Linked DNA regions of Homo sapiens: region 2 is linked to region 1. Evidence: promoter capture Hi-C in 16 types of primary human blood cells and fetal thymus (Javierre and others, 2016). All regions are on one chromosome and are shown on one strand. Each heading gives the region's core, a stretch centred on a gene start or on the middle of the fragment in contact. The rest is flanking DNA. Distances are from core to core; before and after follow the strand shown. Region 1 holds the start of DRC11 (dynein regulatory complex subunit 11). Region 2 overlaps ACKR3 (atypical chemokine receptor 3).

Region 1 (3,074 bases), core at 299-2,798:
GAAAGTCTTGGTTTTAGACAGTGGATATGCTGCTTCTTTCTGTCTTATTCCTATTTAACACGTGTTGCTCTTTGAAAATGTTCTGTTTGTTCAAATATAATGTGGGCGAATTCTCTTTGACTGTCTTCTCACTGTATCTGAGTTCCAGAGCTGAGATACTGCACTTTTCTCTGCTTTTCTGGAACCTGAGTACACATTTAGGATAAGGACTGCTCCCTTGAATCCACACAACTTCCAGGCTCTGTGCTCTCTTCTGAGATTTTGATAAGCTCCTTTACCACCATCCTCCCACTCTTGTCACGAGTGTGCCCTATTCCTGTGACAACATGCCCTTTGACTTTGAATCTTTGCCTCAATTCAATGTAGGGACCTAGAAAAAGGCAAGCCCTGGAGATTTCTCCTGTCCCTGCTCAGGTCCTGGGAGCGGTAGGGATTGACCTCCACTCAGGATGGTTTTATCTGGCCGGATTTCCCCAGGTGTTTCCTCGTTCGGCTCACCCTTTCATACCCCTTCTTTTCAGTGTGTGTATTCTTTGCATCAAAAAGCATTAATGAGAATTCTTGGTGTTGTGTCTACTTGGTCTCTGCCCCCTGAAGGGCTTTGGGAGGGTGGAGATGAGGCTGGACACCATTCTCCACGGCAAGCTGCTATTTCACTGAGTTTTTGAAGTTTACGGTACAAGGTTGTACTCAATTTCTCGTCTGAGAAATAATTTGCTCCATTATTTGAAGGCGGTGCGGAGGGCTGGCTTTTACTATGCTTTTGCGCATTTCATTAGTAATGGTGGGGGAGAGGTTTTGTGATCCTGATTATAATTTTTACCTGGATGTCCTCTCCACGCCTTTGACAGCATTAAACCTGGCGTTCCAATAGGAGCTGCAGGGTCTAAAATGTGCAAATAAACCTCAACAGTTACTAAAGTCGAAGAAAGAAGAGCAATGAAAGCCAACACTCATAGCGACTTACGGATAACTGTTAATAGCATCCACACTGCATTTTACATTTACAACGCACCCGCGCCTTAGTTCATACTCATTAAGTCTCCGAAGGGCGCGTCTGCCTAAGTCTTGGGTGCCCAGAATCTAAGTCTGCACTTGGCCCAGAATAGATGCCCAGTAAAGTTCTGAACGAACGACTGTTATACCCAGTTTACAGATGGGAAAACTGAAGACCACCATCATTAAGGGCCTTGCCCAAGGCCGCAGAGCTGACAGTGGATGAAAATGGGGCCAGCAGGAAAGCGGGAAGACGGCCTGGAGGACCACAGGCTAAGTGCTGGGGCCCGGAGCAGGCTCGCCAAGCGGCCGGGCCCCGCGACGGAGCGCTCGGACTCCGACCGGCTCCCACAGCTGCGCCCACCCAGGCCTCCCGCGGTGGCGCAGGCGCGGAATGCGGGGGGCGGGGGGGGGGAGGGGGCAGGCGGAAGGCAATGCGCAGGCGCGGCGTTTCCGTTGCTAGGGCCGCGTCGCGCCCACCTGAGTGGCCGAAGTGAGGTTCGCGAGTCTCTGGGTCGCGACGGGAAGGAGTGAAACACCTCTCTGCGCCTGCGCGCTCCGTGCCTGCGAAGCAAACCCGGCCTCACCTTTTCCTGCCCGAAGCAGAAGATTCTCGCAGTCCTGGTTTCTCCCTCCAGAAGACCCCCCACCCAAATCCTCTGTAGCTCCTGGTAGTGCCCTGACCCCTGCTGCCACCGTCCTTCAGAGAGCAACGGAAGAGCTTCCCGGAGGGCGAGGAAAAGAGGGAAAGTAGCCAGCAATGTCGAACGCGTAAGTGATGGGCTCCCAGCCACAGCCATGGAGTGGGCTTCCCCAAGCCAGAAGGTGGCTTGCTTTCTGCTTCTCTTATTTTCTTTTTTCTTTTCTTTTCTCCTCCCCTCTCAACTTCCCTCCTCTCCCCCACTTTTTTTCCTTTTAGGAAATTCAAATATGCCTCGGGATAGAGTATCTGCTTCTTGTGAGCAAGGAAAATCATACACTTAGATCTCCCCCTCCCCTACGCGTCCCACCACCCCATGGGGATGAGCTCCCAGTCTTCCGTATACCTGCCAAGCCCTTAGGGGCTATTGCTGAGAAGCACTATGCCATTTTGTCTGCTTTTTTTGTTAATCTTTCACGGTAACAAATACGGTGCTTTGTGGAAACACCTAGGTCCTGAAATTTAAGTCTAGAAAGATCTTGGGAAAGCATTATTGACATTTGCTTTTCACAGACTCGAGTGGCATTGGTACTGAAAGAAGTGTGTGCCTAGCACTGTGTCGTTTACACAGCACTTGCACAAAGTTACCTCATTTGGTCTTCGTAAGAATAATTTCCAACAGGTATTACAGCGCTGACCCTGTAGACACTGTTCTAACCGCTTCACAGCAACCCTGTAACGTAGGGGCTGTTAATATTGTTATTTCCATTTTACAGATGAGGGAACTTGGGGATGAAGAGGTGAAGTAGTTCACACAGCAAGTGAACAGTGCCAAGCCGGGCACTGTAGCTCCAGCCTGCACTGTTGCTATTACGTGCCCTGTATTCTAGGCAAGGAAATAAGAGCAGAGAGGTTAAAGGCTTGCCAGGGTTTGGAAATGGGGAAGATCAAGAGTTCTGTTTAAGACGTATTGAGTTGGAAGTGCCCATTGGACATCACGTGGAGATGAAATAGGCAATTAAAATATTCAGATCTTGGGTTCAGGAGCGAGACCCATGTCTGAAATATAAACTTGCTCACTGTCAGCCTGTGATGGTCTTTGTGAGACATAGAATGAATATTAATAAAGAGGTGTAAGGACTGATCCTGGGATCATCCACAGTAAGGCTGGGGGAAGAGGAGACCTGGCAAAGGAATCAAAGACATGATCCATGAGGAAGAAGCGAGTGGAAGAAATAATAGTGTTTCCAGGAGAAGTAACTTCTTTCTCCTCCATCAAGTGCTCCTGAGACAAGTTGGGGTAGAACTGAGAACTGACTGTTGATTTGGCAGTGTGGAGTTCACCAGTGACCTTGACAGGAGCTGATTCAGTGGTATGATGAGATAGAAAGACTTACTCAAGTGAATGTAGGGGGAGAGAAACTATAGATGGTGAGCA
Region 2 (2,967 bases), core at 468-2,967, 65 kb before region 1:
TAGTAGGTACTCAATGAGCCAGCAGTTAATCGTGCCCCACCAAGACCAGCGACTGTGGCCAGCAGCGGAGACGGGCGTCCAGGAGAGACTTTTCTGAAATCGTCACCGAGCTGGTGTTGACGGACTGAGCCTCTTGTTCCAGGAGGCACTGCTCTGGGGCACGTGAGGACAACAAATCAGAAACATCTCCCCCCAACCCCCGAGACCCCGCCGGCTAATTGGGAAGGCACGCAGGCCCATCACCCCCCAGGCATGAGCAAGGTGGTGCATGCCCCTTCAGCAGGAAAATGAGGGGTTTCTACTCTGGTGGCTTATGGGGGACTTCAAGGAGGTAGGGGTGATCAAGGATGTTCCAGGAAGGCACAGCCATGGGTAGAGTCACCCAGCCTGGCTGAGGCAAGGACTCTCCACGAAGAGCAAATGGAGGTAAGAGTTGGGCCTTAAAGGGTGGGCAAGGAATATGACCAGGGCTTGTCCATGCAGGAGCCAGGACAGTCTAGAGCAAGGCCATGGCTTTGGAGCAGAGGAGGCTTTGAGAATGGAAGTGATACGAACCCCACAGGCAGCTTTGCAGTGGGGTGGTCTGGTAGCTGGGTGCAGACCAGGCTGCTACACACACATCACTCCTCTACAGTGGTATAGATAAGATAACTCAGGCCAGGCCTGGGGCCCCGGGACCAGCTCCGAAAAGGGGGACCCTCTGGCCATCTGGGCCCTGCAGGACTTCTGCCTCCTTCACTGGCTTTCTGCAGTGTGAGACCTGTGTCCTACAAGGGAATTTCATGAAGAAACTTGGTATTGTCCCAGACAAGAGCTGGGACAGTGGCCCTCACTGTTTGCACACCTGGAAACTGAGGCCAGGCCGGGTGAAGAGACTGGGTTATGGTGCGCTTGTGGCTAAGAACAGAGTTCTCTTCCCCTTTCCAACATCTCCAGGGACTCTCCAGCGGGAATCATGCTACAAAAGCAAACGCTCTGGTCTCCTTGAGCAGATAACACCTCTTCCACCAGGCCAGCCCCGCTTACGCTGAGCCTGCAAGTTAGATCAGGAGAATCCACACTACCTCTGAAGAACCATTAGGCAACTGCGCATCATTGAGTGGGGTGTGTGTGTGTGTGCATGTGTGTGTGTCTGTGTGTCTGTGTGTTTTTAACCAATGCTACATCGAATCTATGGGGAAACCAACCAAGTAACCTAGGGGAGCTTTGGCCCAGGCAGACTCTCTGTGACTATCTGCTAGGGCTGATAGCAGAATGGGTAGCTGTCTGTCCCCTCTGCTGCCAGCAAATGGAAAACAGTCTTGACTACACATTCACTAGTGACCGTGAGTGATCTTATTTTATGCAAGTACATAACTGCTTTGAATTACTTGAGAACGCAAAAAATAATAACTACAGAAAACTCTATATCCTGATTCAGATACAGTCCACCTCTTCCCAGGGTCCTTAGACATACTTCACATGAACACGTGGGACACCCTCGTCCACTTTAAGGATTTGGGGGATCAAATAAATCCCACGTCCAGAAACCTGATCTGGTCTATTGTGCTCAGCTGCCCGACAGGGAAGCAAAGCTATACCCACAAGAGCAGGTCCAGAGATTCCCACGTCACAAAGGCTGCCGTCTGGGCCGGCCCAGTGTAACCAGAGCCCTGATTCCCACCCAGCTTAGGACTAGGACGAGGCAGTGGGAGGTCAGCCAGGCTAGGAGAGCCTCCTCACCCCCGCCCTAAGCCAGACACAATGGGGTTCCCAGGAGGACACTGTGCAAACTTAGGCTCTGCATATACAACTGAGGGAGGATGGCCACATATCTGTTATAGCAGGAAAAGCAAAAGATGCTTACTATCTGGCTGACCCAGACTTCAAAACGCAAAGTCCCCCACACTGCCCTGGGCTCGTTATCTGTCCCTTTGCCAACAGTGGTTCAAGGCCACCTGAGATAGTCTCGGCCCCCATCCACTTTTTCAGTGCCTGGAACAAAACACAGTCTGCTTCCAAAACTACCTGTGGCTCTTTAAAATTGTCACCATAAAATTATGCAATTCCCTGATCACTTTAATATTGAAGCAATAGTGTTTTGTTTTGTTTTTTTCAATTCCAAATTAGTCGATAAAAGCATCAAACATTCCCTGAAGGAAACCATCAAATATTCAAAATCAGGGCCACCGCCTGCACGCCTCCCTGTCCTGATCTGTCTATTTCTGGCTTGCTTTCTTTTATTTCAACAGAAAATACGTGTCCTGGAGCTTTGTCTTTTCCTTCCTGAACTTTAGTAACACTTGACATGACACGATCTTTAGTTTCTTCCTGAATTATGCCTACACACGTGCAATCCAATTGAAGGCGTTTTAATACTATTCTTGCTTCTAATAATAAAACTAAGTTATTTGATTGCCTGGTTTAAAGGTACAAATGCCTTCTGGCCCCAGATTCCCCTCATGTTCTACAAAATCACAAAAAAAAAATCTAAAGTTTTGCAATCTTTGAGGTCTTTTTCTTTCCCCTCGGTTACTCTTAAGGTTTATAAAGTGACTGCCCTTCAGCCTCAGGTTTGAGTGACTTCAACCAATTTCCCTCACGTCGACTTGAAAACAGGAGCTCTCGCCCTAAAATGATCACACAAAAAGCCACTGTTCCTGATTAAGCAGGGTTTTTTGTTTTGGGTTTTTTTTTTTTTTTTTTTTTTTTCATTCAGAAAGCCTATACTTGGCCTGTTCTGGGCCTGATTAGAAATCATAATACCTTCTCAACGCTTCAACGACTTGCTGTTAATACGGGGAAAACACACCCCCAAAGCCCTGCGTGTGTCGCACAGGCATGCTGCCTTGGCGATGCTTTATGGAACTTTTTTAAAACTACGTCTGCAATGTCTGCCCCTTAAAAGAGAAAAGCTGATGGGCAGCAAACTGCAGCCATTTCTCCATCTTCCTTCGCTTTCCCACCCCCATCCTGGGCAGCTTTCCC

The links. The method cuts DNA at HindIII sites, captures the fragments that hold promoters and counts their contacts. A CHiCAGO score of 5 or more calls a contact.
Region 2: a fragment that was not itself captured here is called in contact with the fragment with the promoter of DRC11 in region 1 in 1 of 17 cell types (total B cells); the score reaches 5.4 in total B cells.

Annotation. Positions count from the first base shown.
Region 1 is chr2:236,505,950-236,509,023 of GRCh38, reverse strand. It overlaps DRC11 (dynein regulatory complex subunit 11), which reads left to right and starts at 1,548. Exons shown (of 19, transcript NM_024726.5): 1 at 1,548-1,767. The coding sequence starts at 1,757. RefSeq lists a silencer at 1,373-1,422. The HindIII fragment of the contact is 24,475 bases long and covers 1-3,074 here.
Region 2 is chr2:236,571,343-236,574,309 of GRCh38, reverse strand. The region is part of intron 1 of ACKR3 (atypical chemokine receptor 3); the gene reads right to left. Among named protein-coding and RNA genes, the nearest start is that of ACKR3, 3.0 kb to the right of the region's middle. The HindIII fragment of the contact is 7,885 bases long and covers 1-2,967 here.